5 separate regions of the Homo sapiens genome follow, and all the other regions are linked to region 4. The links are contacts of gene promoters, found by promoter capture Hi-C in blood cells and fetal thymus (Javierre and others, 2016). All regions are on one chromosome and are shown on one strand. The core of a region is centred on a gene start or on the middle of the fragment in contact, and the rest is flanking DNA. Distances in the headings are between cores, read along the strand shown. Region 1 holds the start of MIR4743 (microRNA 4743). Region 2 has its middle 37 kb from the start of SKA1. Region 3 overlaps SMAD7 (SMAD family member 7). Region 4 holds the start of C18orf32 (chromosome 18 open reading frame 32). Region 5 holds the start of CTIF (cap binding complex dependent translation initiation factor).

Evidence for each region. Contacts are between HindIII fragments. The CHiCAGO score rates a contact against its expected background, and 5 or more counts as called.
Region 1: a contact is called between a fragment that was not itself captured here and the fragment with the promoter of C18orf32 in region 4, in 1 of 17 cell types (fetal thymus). The highest score is 7.2, in fetal thymus.
Region 2: a contact is called between a fragment that was not itself captured here and the fragment with the promoter of C18orf32 in region 4, in 1 of 17 cell types (total B cells). The highest score is 5.8, in total B cells.
Region 3: a contact is called between a fragment that was not itself captured here and the fragment with the promoter of C18orf32 in region 4, in 1 of 17 cell types (fetal thymus). The highest score is 5.4, in fetal thymus.
Region 5: the fragment with the promoter of CTIF here is called in contact with the fragment with the promoter of C18orf32 in region 4 in 10 of 17 cell types (total CD4 T cells, monocytes, total B cells and 7 more); the score reaches 12.3 in total CD4 T cells.

Annotation. Positions count from the first base shown.
Region 1 is chr18:48,669,233-48,671,932 of GRCh38, forward strand. It overlaps CTIF (cap binding complex dependent translation initiation factor), which reads left to right. Exons shown (of 12, transcript NM_014772.3): 6 at 1,437-1,512. It overlaps MIR4743 (microRNA 4743), which reads left to right and starts at 1,368; the gene lies at 1,368-1,436. The HindIII fragment of the contact is 6,169 bases long and covers 1-2,700 here.
Region 2 is chr18:50,337,125-50,339,824 of GRCh38, forward strand. No RefSeq gene overlaps it. Among named protein-coding and RNA genes, the nearest start is that of SKA1, 37 kb to the right of the region's middle. The HindIII fragment of the contact is 2,599 bases long and covers 45-2,643 here.
Region 3 is chr18:48,938,868-48,941,567 of GRCh38, forward strand. All of the region lies in intron 3 of SMAD7 (SMAD family member 7), which reads right to left. Among named protein-coding and RNA genes, the nearest start is that of SMAD7, 11 kb to the right of the region's middle. RefSeq lists an enhancer at 2,584-2,700. The HindIII fragment of the contact is 2,090 bases long and covers 331-2,420 here.
Region 4 is chr18:49,485,850-49,488,549 of GRCh38, forward strand. C18orf32 (chromosome 18 open reading frame 32) reads right to left here and starts at 1,385. Exons shown (of 3, transcript NM_001035005.4): 1 at 1,194-1,385. The region is part of intron 5 of RPL17-C18orf32 (RPL17-C18orf32 readthrough); the gene reads right to left. It overlaps RPL17 (ribosomal protein L17), which reads right to left. Exons shown (of 7, transcript NM_001035006.5): 7 at 2,632-2,700. The coding sequence ends at 2,670. MIR1539 (microRNA 1539) reads left to right here and starts at 1,524; the gene lies at 1,524-1,573. RefSeq lists a silencer at 1,114-1,243 and an enhancer at 1,284-1,443. The HindIII fragment of the contact is 3,674 bases long and covers 1-1,580 here.
Region 5 is chr18:48,537,781-48,540,480 of GRCh38, forward strand. CTIF (cap binding complex dependent translation initiation factor) reads left to right here and starts at 1,251. Exons shown (of 12, transcript NM_014772.3): 1 at 1,251-1,532. RefSeq lists silencers at 1,357-1,436, 1,937-2,296. The HindIII fragment of the contact is 7,178 bases long and covers 1-2,700 here.

The sequences.
Region 1 (2,700 bases), core at 152-2,651, 820 kb before region 4:
TGGTAAATGTTTAAACAATGAACTAGTTACTCTGAAAGGTGAGATTCGTATGAACTCTGCAGCTGGAAAATGACCCAACTCATGGGACATCTCTCACCATTCCTCAGTCAATACCAGTAATAATAGTAACTGACAATACTTACTATGCACCGGCCATGCTCCAGCCTCTGTTCTAAGTGTTTGCCTCATTTATTTAAAACTCGCCACCACCCAGAGAGGGAGGAACTGTTACCATCTTCTCTTCAATAGATGAAGCAACTAGGAGACCCAGAAATTGAGTAATTTGCATGAGGCTGGGTTGGCTCCAGAATCTGTGTCCTTAATTAATCACCCTCCTGCCTCTTTGCCTAAACAACAGCAACAATATTAGTGGTAATGAAAGTAGTCATAGTAGTAGCAATATATTTACTTCATTATTTATTTTAATTTTGTTATTATTACCAGTATTTACCATTAAACATATGTGTGTATGTTTAAGATATATTTAATGGTAAATACAGATAATAATACATACACAAGAAATATACACACACACATTTATAAACAAACAAGCTAAACATTTATATATATATATATATATATATATATATATATATATATATATATATAAGCTAGACTATATATGTGTGTATATATGTACCGTTTACTGTGGGCTGTCACAGTTCTAAGCATCTAAGCACTCCAGATACATTCATTAATTTAATCCTCCAGCCACCTTAAGATGTTAGACACTATTATCCTCATTTAACAAATGAGGAAACTCATTTGATGAAATGAGTACAGAGAGGTTAAACAACTTGTACAGGGTCCCCAGTTGGTAAGGGATGCAGCGGGGATTCAAACCCTGGGAGTCTGGTTTCGGAATCTGCACCCTTAAATATGCCAAAGATTCAGACCTCTGGCCAGGGAGTTGGGGCCAGCCTCTCTGGCCCGAGGGCACGCCCACTCACAGAGGACATGAAGACAAAGCATAGACTATCTGAGTGGGCTTGCTGGACTGACCCAGAGTCAAGCCAAAAAGGAAGGAAGCCCTATTGGGTTTTCTGCTAGCCCCTGCCAGCCTATGTGACCTTGAGAAAGTTGCTTGGTGTCTCTGTCCACTGATCTTCTGTTCAGTGTAATGGGGCAAGGTGGATGGGCTTTGACAGGAGTTGTGATGAGTAAGGAGCTTAGCTTCTCTGCCTGGAAGGAGCAAGGGGAACTCTGGTTCCTCTCCCACCTCCCTCCAGGTTGGCTGTTGCATTACGGGAGGACCCCCCCCCCACACACACACAGCTTCTCTAGGGCTGTTTCCTCTAGGTGGGACAGCCCCTGCAGGGCTTGAGGGTGGGCAGCACCAGGTATCTGCTGACTGTCCCTCCTCTCCTGCTGGCCGGATGGGACAGGAGGCATGAATGAGCCATCTTTCCAATGCCTTTCTGTCTTTTCTGGTCCAGGTGTGGCAAAGGGAAGCTGGAAGATGGGGATGGCATCAACCTGAATGACATCGAGAAGGTCCTTCCAGCCTGGCAGGTAGGTGCAGGGGCAGGCTCTCTAACAGCCCACCCCCACCCCTGGAGTCCTGATCCTCTTCCTGGACAGGACCTAACCAAAGCACTCCTTCTGGCTGCTTGTTCCAGCAAGGAGTGTAACCGCCTGTATGGTAGTAATAGGCAGGGCTGGCTACCTGCCATTCTCCAGGGTGTCCCATTGTGATCGTGTGTGTGACAGCCTACTCGGTGATGCTGCAGGCCCTGCTGGCAGGCCTGATGTGCCCTAGAGATGAAATAGACCATGCCCTGGCAACTCAGTGAACTTGGAAGTTTTTGTCCCTTGGCCTGAAACCTCTCTGCAGGTGAAGTGTCCTGTGGTGTGTTCAGGTGGGACTGGCAGGCCTGGAAGAGATTCTAATGTGGCTGGGGCTGTCTTTAGGCTTTTGAACAGTGGACTTGCCCTGCTGGCCTCCAGGTGTCTGCTATGCTTGCTCTTTTTTTTATTGATTGGGCCTCTTTCCTGGAATCAGGCCAGGTTCCAGGACAAAGAGGATTCACTCAGTGAATCCAGGTCTCTAGATACTTATAGTGCTGGACTTTTGGTGGAAACAGCAGGAGTCTAGCTGCTCTCAGGAGTGTGACTGGGCCTGCTGCAGGGGTGTAAAAGCAGTGGACCTTCCACAGTGACTGAGTCTGCCGCTGCCAGTGACCATGACCTACCACCACACTCCACTGTGCCACCCTTCCCTTCTCTCCTGATTCTTCTCCTGCTATTTTATCTATATCCATTCATCTCTTCCTGGTGCCTTTGCCATTTTGTTTCTTCTCTGTTCATGCCTTGGGCCTATCAATGAGAGACAATAGAGCATACAGTTAAGACCTCATCTATTTGATTATGATGTGCCTTGGTGTGGTGGTTTTCTTCATGTTTCTCCCACTTGGGATTTATTGAGTTTCTTGGATCTGTAGGTTTATAGTTTCATCAAATTTGGAAAATTTTCAGCCACGATTCCTCCTACTTTCCCTCAACCCTGGGGTTCCAATTGTATGTATTCTATGCTTCTTCATCTTTTCCCATGGCTCACCAAAGCTCTGCCTGATTTTTTAAAGTCTTTCTTTACTCTCTGTGTTTCATTTTGGATAGCTTTTATTGCTATTTCTTCAAGTTCACTAATATTTTATTCCAGTGTCAAATCTACTGTTAATCCCATTCAGTATATTTTTCATT
Region 2 (2,700 bases), core at 94-2,593, 850 kb after region 4:
TGGGGGCCCTTTGGCTCTCATGACAGTCCTATTTCTAGTGGTCAAGCTTGTGGCAGAGGGGCAAGCCATGCAGGGCTTTTTCCATTTCTTTTATTGGGGCAGTTTGCTTTTCAGTGGCCTGGCCTTCTGTACCGATGGCAGTAACCTGGAAGAGTGTTCTTAGGGAAACCTGGAAGGGGCTGGTGCTTGTAAAGCAGCCAACAGTTGAGTCTGTGTTTTGCCTCTGCATTTGTTTTTTTCTTTCTAACCCTGTTCTACTCTTGGTTATAAAAGACTGAGGAGGCTAATTAGAGGATTTTCTGCATAGGAGCCATGCTGTAGTACACAAGAAAAATAGACATTTCTTTTTGAGAGTCTCAGGGTTAAATTTCTCTTAATGTTTTAGGACGCAACCCAGAGGTGAATCTGAAGAAATAGACGGGGTTTGTCTCATGGTAGGACTGGAAAATGAGCCTCTCGTGAGCCTGTCGGGGCTAACTGAACCGCACTTCCACGTGGGGCATCCCGTCAATGAAAAGGGTTCCACTCAGGTCTGCTGAGGGACTCAAGTGCACTTTCTAACGGGGTGTCTCACCTATTAGGAAAGACCTCTCAGTTGCCTGTGGGCCTTACACTGGGTGATCAGCCCACCTATGGGGAAAAAGGGTAAAGGAAGAGGTCTGTCTGGTGCCCGCCCAGGAGATGGGGGTGGGTAAAGGAAGACTCACTGTTCTGAGGCTGTTTGAGACCACTTGATTTAGCAATGCCCAGAACAGTTTGGCTCCACAGGAGAATCCAGAGTGAGAAGGAGAGGGTCTAAGTCACCTAAAACATGTATGAATTTGCCCTTAAGGAGCTTCCACTGTCAGTCATGTCACAGGTAGGGATTAGGGACTTTTTACTAGAAAAGAAAGGGGAGAGTCTTTTTCCCTTTTAGGCAAGGCAGCCAGCCCTGTTCACCCTTTGGCTTCAGGCAACACTGGAGAGTGGCCCTGGCCAGTTATCATTAATTTCCAGAGGGATAATAGAAGCCAGCTGCTGGGAGACTGAAAAGAGAAAATAAACTCAGGTCCCTCACCTGAAAGGGCAGTGGTGGTCAGACACTTCCACACAGATGCCTTTCAGTCCCACCAGAGTGTAGCTCTAGCCAGGGACCTACAGCTGTCTCTGTGTTTAGACACTGTCCACTGAGGATTGCAAGTTGGGAAAGAGGAAGAGAGAGAGGAGAGGGTTCCCCATAAAGAGAGTTCCCCATATGGGCCACCAAAATGTCACGGATGATTAGCGACTATCTGGGGCCAGTGGCATGGGGTTAAGAATTTACCAAGACAACTGTAGGTAAAGAAAAGCAGACATGTTAGAGAAAGTATGAAAATATGTTGTAAGGGTGCAACAGGCAGATTAGCAAGAGAGGAGCTGACAGCAAGGAAACAAAGCCTTGCTGGGGATTTTACAGGATGGTACTTCTGTGTGCTGAAGAGGGCTTTGTGCAGTACTGACAATGCCAAGATTGCAGTGAGCTAACTTGAATTTTTCTATTAGTAGAGAGTCTGGTGATAGCTGGGCACGGGAAGATTGTGAGTTATTTGCGCAGGAGGGCTATGTGTCCTGGACCATGAAGAAAGGCAGACTTATAGCTTATCTGATTTCTCTTTCTGCTTTCCTTTGGTCCTGCCAGCTTGACTCCGTTTCCCTAATTAGGACTCCACACCAGTTGTTTTCACTTTAGATTAGAAGTTCCTTGAAAACAGAGAGGAGGCCCCTAAGGGGTGAAGGGTAAACTATTCAGGGCTCATTGTATTCACTATTCTGCCTCCATGGAGCTCTGCACCGAGCAGGGGCTGGATCAATAACTCTAATTGCCTAAGTGTGGATAGAGGAGTCTGGCCTGTTGGAACTGGTCTGCACTAACAAATGAATCCAGGTCCTTAGGTCAGTAGTTCATGTGACTTGTCTGGACATCAACATTCTTCAGGAGAGGCATCTCCCTGGCCTCCTGCCACCATAGTCCTTTTATGCACCCATCCTTCCCGCCCAGCAGCTGCCTTGGTCTTTCCTAATAGGTGAGACACCCCGTTAGAAAGTGCACCTGAGTGCCTCAGCAGAGCTGAGTGGAACCCTTTTCATTGACGGGATGCCCCACGTGGAAGTGCGGTTCAGTTAGCCCCGACAGGCTCACAAGAGGCTCATTTTCCAGTCCCACCGTGATTGAGGTGATAACTTTAAAGCAGTAATAATATAGAAACCAAAAATGCTCACAGTCCAATCACCTTCCACAGAGGATGGTTCACAATGTAGAGGGAGAGTTCCAGATATCTTAACTGCATAGCCAATTCAAGGCTTGAAGAAAGGCAGACTTATAGCTTATCTGATTTCTCTTATTGCTTTTCCTTGGTACTGCCAGCTTGACTCCTTTTCCCTAATTAGGACTCCACACCAGTTGTTTTCATTTTAGATTAGAAGTTCCTTGAAAACAGGGAGCAGGCCATGGATGTGCTGCATCCCAAACAAGCACCCTTCTGTGACATGCTCCCATCCTCATCTCAGGAGACACTCCAAGGGTTGTCTGGGACAGTGAGAGCCCTTCAAGACCCCAAATTATGGTTGTCCAAATAGAGAACTTATTTATAAGATTGGTCAAGCTGATTATGGTGGATGAGAAAAAGCTTTCCTTATCTTTCAAACAACTCGTACCTAGTCACCCTCTCATGTTAAATGGAA
Region 3 (2,700 bases), core at 126-2,625, 550 kb before region 4:
ACACATCCATGTCCAAGCAGCAGCAAGGACCTGTTCTGGAGTTGCATGCCTTTCAAAAGACACCCATCCCAGAGAGTCAGGCACAGACTGCCAAATCACAAAGCAGAATCAATCCACAAACTCCACCCCACAAGTCCACAACCTCTTGGAGAGGCCGCCCTGACATCAACCCACCCCAGCGACAGGGACCCACCCTATCCCAGAGCCTGCCTGTGGGCATCCGCACGCTCTCATGTGTTTGCGCACGGGATTGTCTATCTGTACGTCTGCGGCAAAACCCACCCACCCACACACCCACCCCCACAACACACACACACGCATACACACACAAGCTTGCACCCAGCAATCCATCTGTCTCAGAGAGCCAGCTGTCAAAAATGAAAGTACAATCTCCTGGAAGCAAGTCACTGCCTTCTAAAAATGTCCCATTTTCCCAGACCGAGGAAACTTGCAAGGGTGGGGTGTGTTTCACTGCAAGTCCCTAACGACCAGGCCTGTCGTCTACCCACCCCCCCACACCCCCCCAAAACAAAGCTGCAATGCTGGAATTCCAACCTGCAGCCAGCAGCCCCGCCCCCGGGCTCCTACCCGCCCACTCCCCTTCCTCCCGGGCAGTTTGCAAGGGCGCAGGAAAGGGAAGGGCCAGCCTTGGAGTCACCCCTGCATTTCAGGAGAGGACCGGCCTTTGAGCACACCCCACCCCCACCTCCGAGGCACCACATTTTCACATTCGGCTGTTTTTTCTTTCCCTTCTTCCCTTGCCAAGAGAATCAAGCCCTGGCTCCTGCTGCCGACCTTCCTCCCACCCTAAACTGAGCCCCATTCATTAAGCCCGCTCTCAGCCAGGGCAGGACAGGAAGGAAAACAGCACACAGGGCCTGTGAAAGAGGCTCAGAGAGGTTATTTCAAGGAGGAGGAGGGAGAAACTCCTCAGTTTTCACTGCTCCCCACCTTGCTGCCAGGCTCCCACCCCCCAACCTCAGTGTCTGCTATGCCCCTTCCCCCATCCAGCCCTGCCACATCCAGTCACTGGCCTCATCCACAGCAAGGCAGACACACCCAGGCCACCCCCCATGGAACGATCAACTTCTTGAAAAGGAGGAGGTTTGGGCTTTCTCCATTTACAAAACTCTCTGCCCTGGACAGGGGCCAATAAAGTTCCCTTTTGGAAGGCATTCTCGCTACAAAGAGGACAGCCCTAGGTTTTCTCCGTGCCCATCACCTCCCCTCCAGACGCCCCCAAGCCGGTGACATCAACCCCCAAAACAGTGTACCCTCCCCACCATGGCCCATTATGAATACACTGCACCAACTCTGAACGGAAAGAAGAAGGAGCTCAAACTTTGAAGCCTTTGGAATTAGTAAATCAAGAGCTGAAATTCAAAACAAATGCTCTTGCCATGTGGAAGGCCCCCTCTTCTCTCTGCAGTCTTCTGAAGCCACACTGCCCTTCAGAGAGTCACTGCTTCTTCCTGGCAGCTCCTTATTAATATCTGTGTCTACAATTACCTGGAGGGGTGAGGGGAAGGAGTTAATGATTGTTTTACCCCCAGTTTCTTTCTAGGACTGGAAGAGCTTTGGGGAAAAAAAGCCCACCCATCGGCCAGGCGCAGTGGCTCACACCTGTAATCTCAGCACTTGGGGAGGAAAGGGTGGGTGGATCATCCGAGGTCAGGAGTTCAAGACCAGCCTGGCCAACATGGCGAAACCCCATCTCTACTAAAAATACAAAAAATTAGCTGGGCACAGTGGTGGATGCCTGTAATCCCAGCTACTTGGGAGGCTGAGGCAGGAGAATTGCTTGAACCTGGGAGGTGGAGGTTGCAGTGAGCCGAAATCGGGCCACTGCACTCCAGCCTGGTGACAGAGCGAGACTCCGTCTGTGTGAGCCGAAATCGCGCCACTGCACTCCAGCCTGGGCGACAGAGCGAGACTTTGTCAAAAAAGAAAAAAAAAAAAAAGCCCACCCATCTCCTGAGGGCTTCACAGGTCACATGGCACGGGCGGGTGAGGAGGCACTCAGGCTGGTATCTCAGCCTGGTGTCGTCATTTCCTCCGGCAGGGGAGACAGACAAGATGTTATCAAGAAGACAAACCTTCCGAAAGGACCCTTTCAAAAGCTGCCACTTCCCTTGCTTATTTCATGTGGTTTGGAGGGGCCGGGGCTCCTCCCTGCACATTCAGGGTTTAAAAAATAAAACCATCTAACAACATCCTGAGCGTGTTATTCTGCTGAGACCCTTTCCTCTCATTGGCCTTCTTTCTTTCAAGAACTCTCTCAGCCTTAGAAAGCAGAAAAGATGCAGTTCACACACTGCTGCCTTTTCTCCCTCCTCAACTCCTCTGTCCACTCCCACCGTACTGCCTGAAGCCCCCTCCCTTCTCTAGGTCCCTCTTTTTCCTGCTCAATTCTCATTAGAAGCTTTGAGTAAACAATACCCTCAGTCTCAGATAACAGAGTATATATTGCATTGAAATGAAAACAAACAAGGGTCTCCCTAAAGACGTTCTCAGCAAGCTCAGTTCCTGAAGAGGAGAGCCGGGGAGGGAGCCGTCCGGGAATGAACTTTGCCTGAGCCAGCCATGGAAGACACACCACCAAGTAGTCAGAGCAGGTACCCCACAAAAAAGGGTGCCCCTCACACAAGAGGATACACCACAACAGGGCACAGCTTCTATTCGAGCTGCTACCACGTGATC
Region 4 (2,700 bases), core at 135-2,634:
AAGCTCAAATGATCCTCCCGCCTAGGCCTCCCAAAGTGCTGGGATTACTGGAACCTGGCCTAATTTTTTTTTTTAAATAATTAGCAAGGTGTGATGGCACGCGCCTGTAGTCCCAGGTATTTGGGGAGCTGAGGAAGGAGAGAACCGCTTGCGCCCAGGAAAGCCGAAACTGCCGTGAGCTATGATGGCCCACTGGACTCCAGCCTGGGCCACAGAGGCAGACCCTGTCTCAAGATTAAAAAAAAAAAAAAATCCAAAAGTTGTAACCTGTCCAAAGTTCTCACAGAGGTAACTGGTAACTAGAGCTTCTAAGACCATTATTTCCAGTTCTGGTTTTCCTCAATGCTCTTGCCTTTTCCTCTTCCAAAAACACAATGGTCATGTTTTTACCAAACTTTTACCAAACTTTCCAAACCAACGAAACCCCTTCAAAACAACTGACAATGCTACCAGTACTAGTTTAGTGACTGACAGGCCCTCCATCATAAAGATTCATTTTTACTTCTGCAATTGTGTTTTAAGTAAGTTCGCACACAGTACGATGTACATAAACTCTCGAGGACAAATACTACTAATCACTTACGCCACAATTACGGCTTTTAAGAGACTTTTTAGCTCTCTTCGGAATGAAGCCTATTTGTATCTTATCTTTTAATCTTCATAATAATACTTCGGTAAGATATTTTACTTCACACATATGGAAACTGGGTCAGAAAAGTCTAGAAGGTGGCTACGAGATATTATTATTTTAATTATTCGCTCCAAGCCAACAAAGCGAGCAAAACGGATTAAAGCTGTTGCAGAGGAATCTTCTTTCACTCAACTTAAGTCCAGACAACAGAGTAGACAGTTAAAGTCTGAGGCTCCATCCGAAATAGGGAAGGCATAACAGGGAAAGTCACCTTCCTCCAAGTCATCCAGTTGAGCATGTCATCTTAGTGGAGACAGAGGGAGCGGGGACAGGTTGAGTCAATGACAATGATTGAAAAGAGACGAGAACAGAGGCCTAACGGTGAAGGTCATAGAAAGGATGTGAAACCGATACTTGGCCACGGAAAAGAACAAAATCAATATAAAGTATCGGAGAGGCAAATGCAAGCTCCGAGGGCGCCGGTGGTGGACAAAGAATACAGACAGAGGGGAGGGGAGGGCGGGGCGGAGGGCGGAGGAGCGCGCTCGCGGAAGGAAGGTACCCTGAGAGCGAAGGCAGGCACCGCGGAGGCCGGCGGGCCGCGACCGCCGAGGAGGGAGGAGGCAGGAGGCCGCGCACCGCCTAGGACTCTGCGAGCGCGGCCCGGGCTGGGCCTGCGGAGCAGCTACAAAGCCCAACCCAGGCCGCTAGCCCGGGCACACTCACCCGCGACCGCGGAAACGCAGCTGACAATGTCCGCACTTCCGGAGGGAGGGACGATCCGCAGCCGAGCCAATGGGCGCCTTCAACGGGGACGACAAAGGCGCGCTTGCGTCAACCCGGGGTCGCACAGCACGCAGCAGTGTTGCCCAAGGGGCGCGGCGAGGCTTCCGGCTCTGCGGCCTGCAGGTAGCGCGAAAGTCCTGCGCGTCCCAGATGCCCAACTAAAAGCTTCGCTGCGGGAAGAAAGCCTGACCTGACTACACCCAGACCCAGAACGCAGGATCTCGGTAAAGGATGATGCCTGTGCAAACGGCGCGGCACCCACACGGAAGGTGGCAGCTAGGCCGTTGAGGCAACTGTGGATAAGCTATTAGTTTTGCTGGTTTCTTAAATTCAAGGGCAGAGCAAACTAACATTAAGGCCAACTTTACAAACGTCAGTTGCTTAAAAGAAGCAGTTACATCACTTTATAAACGAAAAGTACTGACGCTCGCTAGGATGTCAGTACGTGTTGGCGAAGTTGTGTGAAAACTGGGACCCTCATAAACCGTTGGTGGAAATGTAGCGTGCAGCCTTTTTGGAAATATTTGGAAGTTCCTCAGATGTTTACTCAGGTAACCTTATGATCTAGCAATTCCACTCTAGTATATACTCAATAAATGAAAACACAAAAATCTGCACACAAACGTTCACAGTACCATCGTTCCTAATAGCAAAAACAAAACCCCTTTATCAATTGACGAAATGATACAGGTTGAGCATCAACCTAAAAAGCTTCAAAACCTGAGCCTGAGTGCTGTTATCATACTCAAAGGCAATGCTCAATGGAGCCATTTCCAACTGGGGATGATCAACTGGTATATTCACATACTGGATTGTTCTGCAAAGAAAACCACTGCAAATTCCTTTTGGGATAATGAAACTTTTTTTGAGACAGGGTCTTGTTCTGTCTTGCCCACGCTGGGGTGCAGTAGTGCTCACTGCAGCCTCCCACCTCAGCCCCCCAATTAGCTGGGACTACATGCAAGTGACACCACACTTACTTTTTTTTAACAGACAGGGTTCTGACATGTTGCCCTGGCTGGGCTTAAGCAGTCAGCCTCCACCTCCCAAAGTGCTGGGACTACAGAAATGAGCCACTGTGCCCAGCCATGAAAATGGTTTTTAATGGTGCAGGGTAAACAATCTTGTGTTTCTAGTTCTAATCCTAAAAAATCCTCATTTGATCCATCTTGTAAGGACACTTGAAATATGTTCACTAATAAAGACAACCAACATTCTTTTCCTTTTAATTACATTTATTTTAATGCTGAATTTACTCCCGTGCCATAAGTTTTTGTTTCTTC
Region 5 (2,700 bases), core at 1-2,500, 950 kb before region 4:
AAAAAAAAAAAATTGGCCAGGTGTGGTGGCGGGCGCCTGAAGTCCCAGCTACTTGGGAGGCTGAGGCAGGAGAATGGCATGAACCAGGGAGGCAGAGCTTGCAGTGAGCCAAGATCACGCCACTGCACTCCAGCCAGGGCAACAAAGAGAGACTCAGTCTCCAAAAAAAAAAAAAAAGAAAAAAAAACTTAGAAATTCTTTGCTCAAGTATCACTTCCTCCAGGAAGTCTTCCTGACCCTCTCCCAGACCCCACCCACCCTCCATCCAGTTGGCTGCTCCAGGTTGTGTGGTGGGGGGAATTTCACAGCACTTTGTGTTAAGCGCTGACTTATCCCTTGTATAATACTTTCATTGACTGTAGTCCCTAATACTGGACTGAGCTCCTTGAGCGCAGAGACTGTGAGTCTTACCTGTTTTGGCATTCCTAGACACACCTGGTCTGTGGAAAGTGCTCACTAAATGTGAATATAAACTAATGAATAAATGGGTTTCTACAGCAGTTTATACTGCATCACACAGTTCCTCTAATGAATTTCTAGCCCCCTTCCCTGTTGGGGCATACAGTATTTTATTCAGTATTTCTCCTGAAGGCCTCTCTGTGCCAAGCTCAGTTTTAACCAAAACATTGGTGATCTGGTTAAGTCATTACTGAATTATCCACTACGTTGAATTCTCCCAACCACCCCGTCCCAGCCCTTAGCTTGGCCGAAGGAAAATTAATTGGTTGCAAAGTGCGTATCTAATTACAACAGCCAGCCCCCGACACAGAGATGCTCAAATGTTAATTATAACATATGCATCTCAATAACCGACGGTGGCATTTAGTGCAGCATTAATCACGCCACTTGGGCCCCCCAGTGCATACACAAAGCTCCTTTTCATCTGCCATTAGCACAGACTTTGCACTTTCGGCACGGACGTTCTCATCCTTAAAGCCTTTCGGACTCTAAAACCAACGTTTCCCTGTAAGCCTGGACTGCGCCTAAGCCCCCAGTTCTCCCACCGCAGAGGCCCCCACCCAGGGCTGCGCCAGCGCCGTGGGGTCGCTGGGCGGCGGGTTTTGGCGTCGCTAGACTGGGCTGTCTTGGCAGCTAAGGCGACATCCCGAGCGTCCTGGGGCCACCCTGCTCTCCAGGGCCCGCCATCCTGGAAAAGAAAGGCGAACTACATTACCCAGCAGGCCTCCAGCCGCCCTCTTTCCTTTCAAGTCTTTGCACGTGGCCGGAGGGGAGGGCGGGGCCTGAACGTCACTCTCCTACATTCTCTTTCCCTGTGTCAGATCAGGGATCATTTTTTTTCCTTCCTCTACTCCCTCCCCCCTACCCGCCCCTCCCTCCCTGTTTCCCTTCCCTCCCTCCCTCCCCTCTCTGCTGGGTCTGTGCGCTGGGGCGCCCGATCCCCTCCGCAGCTGGGACGCTCCGAACTCGAGGCAGGAGTCGGCTCTCCGGAGCCTCGTCCCTCCCTTCCCCTTCCCTGCCCCCTTCCCCCACCCCCGACTCGGGCTTGGCGCGGCGGCCAGAGGAACCCCGAGGTGAGCATCTCCTCGCCCGTCCTCCTCTTATAGTCATCTCAGCTTGCTGATCGATTCGGGGACCCGGGAGGAGGGCTGCGTGACGTGGGCGTGCTTATAGATAAATCCGGGAAAACCGCCCCAAACAATCAGCCCCCTTCCCCCCATCCCTGCTCCTGGGCCAGCGGGGTGTCCGCACCCATCTACCATCCCCTCCTCCCCCTCGGTGGGGAACTGCACTCCACAGTGTCGCCCCCTCCCTGGGTTTGTCCCATTCCCTGCCGGGTTCCCCGCCCCGCGGGGTGTCGTGGCCCTGGAGCTCCGGCGCCAAGGGGGGCTCTTGGGGGACGCACGGCTGGAGCCCGGCTCGCTTTGGAGCTGCGCGGTGTAGCCGCTGTCATGTGCCGGGTTCCGACCTGGGAGGAGGAAAAGAGCGAGCGCGATTCCTCTCCCTTTTGTTTTGAAGCCCGCATTTGCTGCATCGAGCAGTTGGTTTAGTATCAGCCAAACTTGCAGCTGTTCAGACCGCGCTCCGCCGAGGTAGGGAGCCCGTCTCGGGGTGGCGTTTGGGGGCCGGGGGCTGCGGCACTCGGGGCTGCGGGAGGGACCCCGAGAGTGTGTCGCCACGCCGCCCCTCCCTTCCCCGGTGACTGATTGTGTCTGTGGCAGCGGGCGTGTGTGAGTGTGCGCGCCCGTCCCCGCGGGCTCGGGGATGTCTGTGGATGGCTGTCGTCTAGACAGGGCGCAGCCCCCTCCCTGCGTCCCCGGTGAGCCCGCGGGCCGCGGGGGGAGCGGGGGATGGGAGCAGAGGAAGAAACCAAATCGGTGGACCCGTTGCGGTCTCCCCTTTGGTTATTCCCAACGGTTGTGGTTCTGTTGGCTTTTTTTATTATTCCTGTCGCTGCGGTGCAATCGGGCCTGGGGAATAGATACGCCCGGCGGAGAGGGGTTCACTTGACAGGCTCTGAAAAGCCACCTCTGGGTGGCGAGTGACCCGAGAGGCCGTGGGGTGGGCTCCGGCTCGGGTTCATCAGGACGACGAGCAGGTAACTGTCCCGGGCGCCGGTCATGGGGGAGGGCGGGCGGGGGGGCGATGGCTTGGGCTGCGGCGAAGGTCTGGGGCCTCGGAGGGCCGCGTGCCGGTGCCTGGATGTGGCCGGAGGGGGCGTCCGGGACACCGCGCGCCTGA